Regions from separate parts of the Homo sapiens genome. Here region 2 is linked to region 1. Evidence: promoter capture Hi-C in human tissues and cell types (Jung and others, 2019). All regions are on one chromosome and are shown on one strand. The core of a region is centred on a gene start or on the middle of the fragment in contact, and the rest is flanking DNA. Distances in the headings are between cores, read along the strand shown.

What was found. The method cuts DNA at HindIII sites, captures the fragments that hold promoters and counts their contacts. A contact is called where the count stands out against the background at its distance.
Region 2: a fragment that was not itself captured here is called in contact with the fragment with the promoter of ULK1 in region 1 in 1 of the 25 tissues and cell types used here (H1 embryonic stem cells).

Annotation. Positions count from the first base shown.
Region 1 is chr12:131,892,218-131,898,634 of GRCh38, reverse strand. ULK1 (unc-51 like autophagy activating kinase 1) reads right to left here and starts at 4,013. Exons shown (of 28, transcript NM_003565.4): 1 at 3,523-4,013; 2 at 2,942-3,034; 3 at 2,811-2,852. The coding sequence starts at 3,633. LOC124903059 (a long non-coding RNA gene) reads left to right here and starts at 4,477. Exons shown (of 2, transcript XR_007063538.1): 1 at 4,477-4,788; 2 at 5,060-5,577. RefSeq lists an enhancer at 1,032-1,829 and silencers at 2,197-2,256, 2,287-2,346, 2,317-2,611, 3,754-4,263, 4,294-4,343 and 1 more. The HindIII fragment of the contact is 30,695 bases long and covers 1-6,417 here.
Region 2 is chr12:131,722,173-131,728,589 of GRCh38, reverse strand. SFSWAP (splicing factor SWAP) reads right to left here. Exons shown (of 18, transcript NM_004592.4): 5 at 2,960-3,185; 6 at 1,538-1,650; 7 at 162-297. Among named protein-coding and RNA genes, the nearest start is that of SFSWAP, 14 kb to the right of the region's middle. The HindIII fragment of the contact is 4,275 bases long and covers 2,020-6,294 here.

The sequences.
Region 1 (6,417 bases), core at 2,764-5,263:
AGCTACTCGGGAGGCTGAGGCAGGAGGATCGCTTGGACCCAGGAGGCGGAGGTTGCAGTGAGGGGAGATTGTGTCACTGCACTCCAGCCTGGGCGACAAGAGCAAAACTCAGTCTCAAAAAAAAAAGAAAAGCAAAACCATAAGAGATGTCATTTTCTACTTCTCACATGAGCCACGATGGAAACCTCTGAGAGCCACCCTCCTGGCAAGGACCTAGGGAGACACATGCTTGGAGACAGGCTGAGAGACCAGTGGCATTGCCTCTCCGGAGGTCCATTTGGCAATAGCTACCCAAATTAAAAACCAGCATCCCTCCTACCCAAGGATTCTACTTCTAAGGATCCAGTCACAACCACCCTGATGTACCAGCATCCCAAAATAACCTCATGTCCCACCTACAGGGCCTTGGTGAAATCAGTTATGGAATCTCGGGCAACAGGCACGCCATGGCTGAAAATCACCACGGCAGACCCAATCAGGCCAGCAGCTAGCACCTCCACGATGGCTCCTCCAACCCGAGAGCACTCCCTCCTCCCTCACACAGCCCTCACAGCCCGTGCTTTCTGCTTCACAGAGGAAGAAATAGGACCGCAAACTAAAGAAGCTGTGTGTGCACATATGGCAGCCAGGACTGGGCCCCTCATCAGCGTCAGCCTGGCTCTCGACCACTGTGCTTACAGATGGTGACCTCTAACAGAGAGGGGTAAACTTTTTGAGGGTTTTGTTTTGTGTTTTTGAGACAGGGTTACACTCTGCTGCCCAGGCTGGAACGCGGTGGCAACATCACGGCTCACTGCAGCCTTAAACTCCTGGGTTTAATCAATCCTCCTACAACCTTTATAGTAGCTGAGACATGCCACTATGCCTGGCTAATTTTTTTTCTTTTTTTTTCTTTTTTTTAGAGAGAGCGAGTCTTGCTATGTTGCCCAGGCTGGTCTGTCTTGGCCTCCCACAGTGCTAGGGTCACAGGTGTGATCCACTGTGCCTGGCCGAGGGGTAAACTTTCTGATATGGATTGAGCCAGCACAGAACCTTCCCCAAGCTCTACTCTTTTAGAGACAGGGCCTCGCTCAGTCGCCCAGGCTGGATGGAGTGCAAACTATACTCTTAAGTGACAAAATTCACGGCGCAGAGAGGTGGGTGTGGCGGGGAAGGACACCGGTGAACACATCGCCTTGTAAGGATGGCTGTCCCCGGTGGCCCGGAAACAACTAAAGCAGGGGCCTGAGAACGGAGGGCAGCGGGACTCGATCGGGGGCAGGACTCTAGCCTCGACCGCACTCCCTCCCGTAATGTTTGAGGATTTTCTTTTATCACCCAAATCGTTCATTGTCCATTTTTAAAACCCAGTTATTTTTTCCTGGGTTTGGGTGCCTGCCTCAAACATTGCCTTACCGACACAGGGCAACAATCCCCACGCCTGTGGGGGCGAGGGCAGGCTAAGCTGCAGCTCCAGCAGAGCCCGGTGCCCGGAGACAGGAGCGCCTGCAGCTGGCGGCTCCAAGTGCTTCCTGAGTAGAGAAAGCCGCAGAGTTGCCAACACTGGAGGAAGTGGCAGATGCCCACAACCAGGTGTGTGTGGCTGACTGGGATGGAGCTGGGCCTGGGGATACTGGTCCCGGGTCTGCGGGGGTCGTGCGGACAGTCACAGGGCCTGGCCTGGAGATGCCCAGGACTGGACCTGGGGAGCCCTGGAGGGGAGCAGCAGGCAGTGTAGCCCAGGGTGGAGGGGGAGTCCCTCAGAGTCGCTGCCTGGCCAGGGACAGCTGTCCACTCCTTGCTGGCTCCCAGAGCCATGACGCATGTGCAGGCTGTGGTCCAGGCAGGAGGCTTCCAAACATGGAGAGGATGAGGAAAGAGGAGGAAGGGAGGGAGGAAAGCAGGGAGAAAAGGGGTGGGAAGAGGGCGGGAAAAGCAGCAGGAGGGATGGCCCAGCTCCAGGACACAGTGTGCCTGGGTTTCCAGGTACTCGCTGGACCTGGGCCCCCCCCACCCGGCACCTTGTGACAAGCCTCGGTCCCCAAGGCCACAGCAAAGCTCTGAGAGGCGGACGGAGGAGGCCACCAAAACACGGCCTGCCAGCCCTTCCCTCAGCCAGGGGCTGGGCCCTGGGCTCAGTAAACAGGTCACAGAGCCATTAGTCAGCACTTTGGCGGGGCGGATCTCCCGCCTCAGGTTCCTGGTCCCCAGGACGGCACCCTGGCTCCCACAGCCCCAGCCCTGCCTGCCCTGGGCCCCGGGACACGGAGGCAGCACGAAAGCCAGCTGGTCCCACCGCTTGCTTCTTGGGGCCAGCCGGGCCCGAGGTCATCTCCTTGGCCAGCCAGCGGCAGCCGCCTGTGCCCCGGCCCGGCCCTGACTGCCAGCGAGCAGGAGTCTCCGGCGGCCCCTCCCCCGCCCCGTCTGACGCAGAGCGAGGCCGGCCAATGCCGGCCGCAGGAGCAATGTCAACAAACACACGGCCTAGACAGGTGGGCCAGGCCGGCAGTGCTGCCAGGGCCAGCCGGGGACGCCGGACTCAGGCAGGGCCCCTAGGACTGACGCCCGGCGGGGAGGGGATGCCTGTTCAGGAGAACTCAGCCCTGCCCTGGGGCGCCCTGCGGCCCAGACACCCCCTCCCCGGTCTCACAGCTGGGGAAGTCACAGCAAGAGCCAGCACCAGCCCAGGCCTGGACCCAGGGTGGAGTCTCCAGGGGCCCAGTAGACCCCAGCCTGGACAGGCTCAACACCAGTGCTCACCAGGGGATCCAGCACCTGGGGCCACAGTCCCCCAGCCCGGTCCCCAGCAGACCGCAGCCCAGAGGCCTTACCTGGAAGTCGTACAGGGCCACGATGTTTTCATGTTTCAGTTCCTAGGACAGAAACCCAAGTTTGTTATCAGTGTGGGGAGGGGGGCTTGCCCACGCCCACGCCCACGCCCCCTCCCCCAGCACTGGCTCACCTTCAGGATTTTGATTTCCTTCCCCAGCAGCGTCTGAGACTTGGCGAGGTTCTTCTTGTTAATGCACTTGACGGCGACCTCCAAATCGTGCTTCTGAAAGCCAAACGTGCACCTTCAAGGCCAGGGCTGCCCCTCGCAGGCCTCCCCCAGACCCCAGTCCACACAGGTGGGGCCCTGAGATGATCCCGGTTGGGAATCCCGGGACTGGAAGGCCGAGTGGGGAGCCAGGTTGAGGATCGCGCTGGGGGTCCTGGGGTAGGGATCCAGCCTCGAAAGCCGGCTGTGGGACCAGGTTGCGGGGTGTCCCGGGGTGAGGGTTTGGACAGGAAAGTCGGGCTGGGGGTCTCGGAGTGAGGATCTGGGCTGGAAAGCCCGGCAGCGGATCTCGGGGCGGGAGTCTGAACTGGAAAGTCGGGCTGGGGGTCGCGGGGTGGGGATCCTGGGGTGGGGGTCGGCCTGGAAAGTCGAGTGGGGCTCTCGGGAGGCGTGGGGGGGTCCCGGGACAGGCGGGGAATCTCGGGGCGGGGATGCAGGGGCAGGGGATCCTGGGCGGGGGATCCCGGGCCGGACGGGGGCCTCACCTCGCGGTGGCGGCCCTTGAAGACCACCGCGAAGGCGCCGTGGCCGATCAGGTCCTTGCGGGAGAACTCGAACTTGCCCACGGTCTCTGTGCCGCCGCGGCCGGGCTCCATGGCGCAGGCGGGCCGGGGGCGCGGGGCGGGGGGTGGCGGGCCAAGGCGCGGGGGACTCAGGCGGAGGCGCGGGCCGGGGCGGGCGGGCCGGGGGCGCGGGGCCGGGGGCGCGGGGCCGGGCGAGGGCGCATCTCCGGGGCCGCGCGCCCCATCGGGCAGGCCGGGGCCGGGTCCCAGCCCCGCGGGCCAGGCGGGGTCCGAGGGTCGCGCTCCCTCCGGCGCCTGTGCCACGGCACTCTTCCCGGGCTGCTAATCCGAATCCGGATCCGACTCCGACTCCGACTCCGGCTCCAACTAGGGCCCGGGCTCGGCCCCAACGGAGAAACAAAAGAGCCGCGGCGCCCGGGCCTCAGAGCCTGAGACGCCCGCGCAGCCGCACTGCGCGCCGGGCCGGGAGGCGGGATGAGGGCGGGGCCTGCGGGACGGAGCGGCAGAGCCGGGCGTGACGAACAGACGGGGGGCGGGGAATGGGGCGGGGCCTGTCGGGGGGGTGGGCGGCTGGGCCGGGCCATTGCGGGGCCGGGTGGGCTGGGAGTGGGTGGGGCCAACAGCGGACCCGCCCCGGTGAGAGCAGAGAGGCGCGCTGACCCGGGAGCGGGCCACGGGGCTCAGTGTTGATTCCTTGCCCCACTCCCTTCCACGCCCCTTCCCCGCCCCTTCCCCGCCCCGCTTCTTCTCTGCTCCCCTCCCTCCTTTCCCCTCTCTCCGTCCTCCTCCCTCCTTTTCCCCTTCCCATCACCTCTCTCCCTCCCTGCCCCCTCCCTTCCGCCCCCTCCCATGCCTTCCCCCCCGCTCCCCTCCCGCCCCCACTGCCTGTTCTCCTCCCTCCTGTCCCCCCTCCCTGTTCCCCTCCCTCCCCTTCCCTGTTCCCCTCCTTCCCGCTCCCTGTTCCCCTTCTACAGGAGAATGGAGAACAGGCGTGGGAAATGTTCCCAAAACGGGGGACTGCGCAGAATTAATTCTTAGAAATAGAATGGCTGAGTTAGAGGTTAGGCATTTAAAGTTGAGTTCCATAATGCCAAATTGCAAAAAAAAAAAAAAAAATTGTAGACCAAAAAGTTGTCACCCAAACCAACGACATAGCCCATAAATCCGCTGGGGAGGAAAGGTTAGCTAGATGGGCTGCGCATCGGTCCTGTGGAACACTGCACAGAGGTAAATATACCTGTGCTCAAGGGTGAGTTCTCCAAAGATTATAATTAAGTAAAAGCAAAATATGGAACAGGGCACTGTACTGTCTGTCGTTTTAAGAAAGCGGTAGGATTGGGATGTGTGTGTGTGTGAAACGCCTGTAATGTGTACATGGTCGTTCCTAACTATAATGACAGCTAACTCATCACTTAGGCCAAGCAGCGCACTTTCCAGCGATTAGTGCATCCATTCAATGATTCCACGAGGCACTTGCTGTTATGTCCCTGTTTTACAGATGAGGAAATCAAGGCGGAGAAAAGTTGGAGAATGTGTCCAAAGTCACACCGCCGGCAGCCAAAAGAGCCCGGGGGCTCACTCACAGAAGACACAGCCAACAGCGATTGCTCTGGGAGAGAGGACCGGGGAAAAGTTAGTGCTGTTCACCGTACACGTTGCGCGCTAGTTGGAATGGCTTTCACCACGTGCAAGCACTGCTTTTGCAAATGCATGATTCTAAACAATGCTCACCAACCCAGCCTTCAGTACAGTCCTAAAGTAACAGCCCAGAAACACACACTTCAGCCAGGACCCTCCATGCTGCCTCCCAGAGCAGCCCAGCAGCTGGACAGCCTGATGCCCTGGGCTGGATCAGCAAGTCCTGGATGCCTTTTACCTGCACCCAGCTCATCCTCCAGGCCGCAGGACACACAGACTCCCGACCCTGGACTGGGGGCCAGAAGCCACCGAGCTGGAAGGGACAAGAGGTCTCCTGGCCCACCATGTTTGTTTTCCCAATAAAGAGGTTCCACAGTGCCCCGTAGTCAGCCATAGCATTCACTCACATCCTGGAGTGCCTGCTGCACACCGGCCTGCCCAGAGAGCACACGCTGCGAGGTAAGTGCTGCAGTTGACACAGTGAGAACAAGACCCGCCTGCAGGAGCTCCCAGCGCTTAGGGGTGGGGGACAAGAAGAGCAAAGATTGCACCACCCGTGGCAAAATTGCAAGAGAAAAATGAGTGAACAGGTGGCTACGTGCTGAGGTGATCAGGGCAGACCGTGAGGGCCGAGATTGCTAGAGATGGCGAAGCCTGTACTCCTGGAAAGTACTCAGGGAACCCCAGCCCAGCCCACCCTGGCCTGGAAAGCCAAGCTAACGGGGTCTTCACCCCAAACTCAAAGAAATACCCAGGAAGAGTTTAGGAGAGGGTGGGATGGCAAGATGGGATTTGCATTTGGAAACCGTTACTAGGCCCACCGAGGAAGGACATGTTTCTTTTTTGTTTTGTGCGGTCTTATTAAATTTTTTATTCTTTTTATAACTTTTAGGTTCAGTGGTGTGTGGACAGGTTTGTTATACAGGTAAATTATGTTTCACAGGGTTTGATGAACGGATTATTTCATCACCCAGGTAATAAGCAGAGTACCCGATAAGTAGTTTTTTGATCCTCTCTCCCTCCTCCCACCCTCCCACCCTCAAGTGGGACCTGGTGTCTCTTGTTCCCTTCTTTGTGTCCTATTTTCTTTTTTTTTTTTTTGAGACGGAGTCTCGCTCTTTCGCCCAGGCTGGAGTGCAGTGGCGCTATCTTGGCTCACTGCAAGCTCCGCCTCCCAGGTTCACGCCTTTCTCCTGCCTCAGCCTCCCGATTAGCTGG
Region 2 (6,417 bases), core at 2,908-5,407, 170 kb after region 1:
AGCCTCGTGGCACTCTCCCTTGGGACCATGTGCAGGCTCTGGGCCGCCTGCTTCCATACTTGTTACACTTGGAGGACAGAACACTTGGGGTTTAGAGCCCTGTAGCTGGCTCTGTCACAGGCAGCTGAACACAGGTCAGGACATACACAGTGAGTACTCACAGTCTGCCGTGTACTCCACCTGGGAGGGCTGCACAGGCGCACCGTCTGCGTTGTGTGGGGTGGGAGTGGAACTGTCAGCCTGTGCCTTACGAACAAGTGCTGCGAGGGGATGATCTGGGTCCACTACCTTCAAGGGCTGGAAACAGAGAAGACACAGCCTTAGCATTCAATATTCTGAACCATGCAGAACTCTTCTGCTGCAAAAGGCTCACCTTTAGGACTCAGTGTACATGCCTTAGAAAAAACACACACATGCACGCACCCATGGAGGTCCTAACGAGTTGTGGCCAAATGCCCCAGCTGGCTGTCTCAGAGGAACTGAGTGAACACAGGGTTTCAATTTCCAAAATAACTACCAAGAAAAGGACAGACGAACAACTAAGACTAGTTTGACACCAATTAAAGTGTGAATGTCTAACCCCATGCAAAATTTGAAACTGTCTTTCCTTATAGGAGTTTCTGATTTTTAATCACCAATAGCTTTTCCAGTCCAATCAATCAGCAATCATTCCCACAAAAGGTCACCCACAATGCACAACTGCTGAAAACCAGATGCTTAAATCTAATAGACTCCTGTTTTTTATGTCGCGAATGGCAGAGTGGTGTGAATTAACCACAAGATAATGCTGAGTGGTTTCTTCACACAGATGAGGGGAGAATTAGAAGTGAAAATATTTATTTAAAAACAATCTATGATGGTAACATAGGACTCGAAGATGCATATATTCTGATCACCTATAAAATCCAATCCTATGATGATATCACAACTAAACAATTTTTTTTTCTTTTTGAGTCTCACTCTGTCTCCCAGGCTGGCGTGCAGTAGTGTGATCTTGGCTCACTGCAACCTCCACTTACTAGGTTCAAGCAATTCTCGTGCCTCAGCCTCCCGAGTAGCTGGAACTACAGGTGTACCCACCACGCCTGGCTAATTTTTGTATTTTTAGTAGTGATAGGGTTTCGCCATGCTGGCCAGCTGGTCTTGAACTCCTGATGTCAGGTGATCCACCTGCCTCAGCCTCCCAAAGTGCTAGGATTACATGTGTAAGCCACCACACCCGCACAACAAAACAATTTTCAAGTCTTAACCAACACTCTACTTGGAACTCTAAATATCTCAAAGGAGTAAAATTGTAATAAAATGGTAAAATTATCCTGAGCAAATGCTCACGAATTTTATAAGCTAGACAGGTAAGAAACCAAAGAAGCAGATGCTTTGTCACCCAGCTAAAAACAAAAATGCAAATACACCTCAATGATGATAAAATAAGATACAACTGTAACACACAAGAATGACATGCTTCAAATTTTCCAAAATTACATTAGCAGAAGTTTTGTGGTGGCATAAAAATATAGTTCAACAATGAGATAAAAACCTTCATCAGCTCTTCAAGGCGGTTACACTTCTTGGAGGCAAAGAGAGAGGGATGAAGGTAATTCCCATCTTCTTCATCATCATCATCTTCATTGTCAGAGCTGACTCCTGATTCTGAAATCAAAATCACATTTCAAGATTTTGGTGTTTGGTGAGAAAAAAAGTACAAATTAATTATGCAAAAACTTAGAAGCAGCCAAGTTATCTTGGTTATCTGTCGAAAAAACACTTTTAGAAATTTCTCCCTAGAGTCACCCAAGTTGTCCAGAAGAAGGCCAGATAAAAAGGATTGCGACCTTTGCCCATTTGGTGACTCCTTGCCAGCATCGAGCACCAGCTGGTCTGGGGCTCTGTATGCTTTCTTTCTCTCTGCCTTTTTTTTCCTTTTTTTAAAAAAGGGCAAAAATTGTACTGATTTATGAAAAGCAAAATAATAGCAACAGAAATAAACAACTACAACAAAACTGAAGATGAGATCTGCATTAAGATTTACACAACTGATTTGAAACTTATTTTGGCTGAAGAGAACAGAATTCAGTGGAAGGGCCGGGCACAGTGGCTCACGCCTGTAATCCCAGCACTCTGGGAGGCCGAGGCGGGTGGATCACCTGAGGTCAGGAGTTTGAGACCAGCCTGGCCAACATGGTGAAACCTTGTCTCTACTAAAAATACAAAAATTAGCCGGGCGTGGTGGCACGTGCCCACGATCCCAGCTACTCGGGAGGCTGAGGCATGAGAATTGCTTGAACCCGGGAGGCGGAGGTTGCAGTAAGCCAAGATCGCGCTCACGCCATTGCACTCCAGCCTGGGCGACAAGAGCGAGACTCTGTCGCCAATTAAAAAAAAAAAAATTCAATGGAAGATGTGTGTGTGTGTGTATATATATACATATATATGAATAGACTTGTCAAAATACCATCTTTATTCAAAATACAGCTAACTGGCTTTGGCAGTAAGAACTCCAAAATAGAGACACTGTTATAAAAATAATAGCTTAAAATAGATAATCCAAGTAAAATTTTCACTTTTGTGGCCATGTATAATTGAGCTATACAGCCCTGAACACTGTGGTACTTGAATAATCCAAGAGAGGATATATAACTGTTTTCTCTATGAAATGTTAAGTGGGCAAAATGAGGGCAAAAATTTCCCACCCAGATGATTATGTTCTGACAGCATCAATATTTAGTTATATTTCATTTATCTATAAAATATTAACCAAAGATTTAATAAAGGTGCACCAGCAGGGGTAACGATCACGCCTTAGCTGCAGGATTTCAGACACATTCTAGAAATTCGAGTCTGGCTTTCAACCATGCATCTGTAAGAATGTGTATCTTCACACTTTTCCCAGAACCACCCAGCCTGCCGCCCCCACAACACAGGCCCAAAGTCTGGACGGAACAGACGCAGTGGGACCTACTTTTTTTCTCGTCACTTTTGTTTTCTGCCAGGACAGTGTAGCGTCCCTCTTTCATGGCTTTCTGGATGAACTTATAGTAGGGGTTGAGGTAGTGGTCGAAGCGCAGAAAGTCAAACTGGGAGTTCCGGGCCTGCTTGGCCTTCAGCATGATCTCAAACTGTGCTCCCTGCCTGCACACGAAGCTGGCCGTGCGCTCGATGATGGCGTGCATTTTAGCGGTTGGTGGCTACGGGAAAACACACATATTCACGTCACCCATTTGTCCTCTTGTCCACCGGCCACGTGATTTCATTAAAACATAGAAATGACTCTGGTTTTACTGTCAATTTTAAGAGATACGAGACTTTAAGCTGGAAGAGCCCAGGCTGTTCGGACTCCTCATCTCCAAATCTTGACAGGATTTTGCAGGGGAGAAAGCTCGCCAGCTGAGGCAGGCCACTCCACCATGGTACAGACCCATGGGAGGTGACTTCTTTGTGCACCAAGTCAACATTTTTCTATATATTTAAGTTCAGCTCTATGATGGAATTCAGGGGGTTTGTGAATCCTCTGTGCATGTGAATTTTACAAACAAGCACTTTTCTAGGGAGAGGGTATACATTCCATGGTTCTCAATAACCAGAATCACTGCTCTTTCCTTCTTCTTAGCGGGGACTAGGTTTCACAGCTTGGAGGCTCCCTCTTACAAAACAGCCCTTCTGGACATCCAACAAAAGCCACAAGAGTACGCCATGTCTTTTCTTCTGCACCTGAGCCCTGCTCCCCAGCCCCTGCACAGTTCCTGGCTCACTGCCATTCCCACTTAAAAGCAGTATCCCAAGCTGAAGACCACCTAGGTGTGGTCTGGCCAGAGCAGATGGGACACTCCAGGTGAGTTTCTTCCCAGCATCAAAGCCCTCCCCCATCCCTTCATGTGCTGCTAAGGAGTCACTTCAACGAACCTCATGCTCTTAGCATTTCCTGCCCACAAATGGATCTTGTTAGACCAAAGGCTGAAAGCCACACATCTAAAATACCTTTCATATCAACAAAGAGATTAACACTAGGAAATTATTTGCAAATAAATCTGGCAATTATTCTCATTAAAAATGGATGGTTAAGAATTCAGGGCTTCATCCTTCATAAAATATAAATGGCTTAATTCTCTAATTTAATTTTTGAACTAATAACATCCTTCACACTTAAAAAGGATAGATGTCTACAATTATTCATTAATCCCCAAATAATTTAAATTCCATGTTAAAGGCCCACTGTATGCATGTCCACGACTTGGATTTTCAGGGGCTCTGGTTATTCATTGTTAAAACAGAATATTCCATAAACACATCAATAATTAATGATCACTTCATAGTAATGACCCTTAAAGGAAAATATGATACTGGCCCAGTTTAGGCTTTCTTTATTGACCAAACCAACTTGTTGATCCAAAATTTCTTAAAAGTAGGCCTATTTGTTATATACTACTTCTATTACCATGGTTAAAAAGCAATGTGTAAGTAATTTTACAAAAAAACAAAGCATCTTACGGACATATTTCAAGGTTGGCTACCAACCCTGAATAAGATTAAAAAGTATCTGGTTTGGAAAAAGCCATTCTTTACTTTATTAGGCAGACTTTAGGTAAATCATTTTCCATTTAAGAATATCATGATCACTCCTACTACACAATGAGATTTAAAAAATACAGTCAACATATAAATATGCATATGTTACAATGGCCTAAGAAAAGGAAAACTGTTTTTCTAATTTAAATCCAGTGGGGAAGCCTTTTGTTTAAGGAAGCCGACAGAGCCCCGGAAGGGGGCTAACACCTCCTCCCCTTCCCTGGAAATTCCATTAATGTGAATTTAAGCTCCAGAGGAGGCATGGGAAACAGGAGAAAGGTATCTACAGGTCAGAAAACCCACACAAATGCACGGTTTCCTAAGAGCTTTGGAAAAGGCTTGAGCTCAGACCCATCGGGGGACCAGGAAGGAGGTGGCATGACATGAAGAGGGGAAATTAGCAAGGAACCCCAGGGGCAGTGGGGCCAGCCCTCTCCTCACGGGGTTAGGGGAGAAAAAAAATCAAATACCTGCTTTGCCCAGAGCCCTAAGTAAGTATCAGATTGAGTCAAAATTCAAAGGCAAAAATACAAATACAGAAGTACCAGCAGTAAATATAGGAAAATATTTTCAAACTCTTGTGGGTGGGAAGCCTTCCAAAATAAGCTTTAAAATTCTGAAGCCATAAGGAATAGAGGGACATATATCACTCTATACTTAAATTCTGCACAGAGAGTCGTACAATCACTTAGAAAACAAAGTGCGGGGAGAAAATACCTGCAAGACACATTGGGGACCAAGAGTTAAGGCTCATTAGACGTCAAGAGTCCTTACGAATCTGAACAAAAGGCCAGTCACTCCACAGTAATTCAAGAATAAATCAACATTTTTTCCCTCCCCACCCACCTTCTGTGACAATACAGTACCTAAATTATGATGAAATAATGCTCTAATCTGCACAAATTCGATAAAGCTTAACTTTAGTGGTTCAGAGCTCTGGAGTCGGTCCCTTGGCTAGAACCCCAGGCCTGACCCTCACACATGTAACTTAGGGCAGTTACTCTTAACTTTCTAAACTTTAACATCTGGCAACAACTGTATTTGCTTCATAGAGTTATTTTTGTATTTTTATTTTTTTGAGACAGGATCTGGCTCTGTTGTCTAGGCTGGAGTGCAGCAGTACCGTATTAGCTCACTACAACCTCCACCTCCAGGGCTCAAACCATCCTCCCGCCTTGGCCTCCTGAGTAGCTGAGACTACAGGCATGTACCACCACGCCTGGCTAATTTTTTTCATTTTTTGTAGAGGCGGAGTTTCACCATGTTGCCCAGGCTGGTCTTGAACTCCTGGGCTCAAGCGATTCTCCCACCTCGGCCTCCCAAAGTGCTGGGATCACAGACATGAGCCGCTGCACCTGGCCTGTAAAATTATTTTGAGTATTAACTGAGAGATATGCCTAGAGAAGCACTTAGTACACTGTCTGGTACACAGTAAGTGCTTCATAAAGGCTGGTTCTATGTTATTATTCATCAACAGAATAAGCGTTGCACACAACAGCAACTATCGAATCCTTCCCCACTTTCCATAAAATGTGTTCGAGCAAGCACATTTCCCTTGGAACTGCGCCCTAACAGGTCTGGGACTACAGGCACGTGCCACCACACTGGCCTATTATTTTTACTTGTTTGTAGAGACAGGATCTCACTATGTTGCCCAGGCTAGTCTTGAACTCCTGGCCTCAAGTGATCCTCCAACCTTAGTCTCCCAAAGAGCTGGGATTACAGGTGTGAGCCACTGTACCCAGCCTGGGGTGCTGTAATTTCTAACTACTTCTTACTCTTCATCCAAAAGCCTCAAGGATCCTGTCATCATTAGGTTCTAAACCAACAGTTAGTTTAAAAACCAAGAACCTC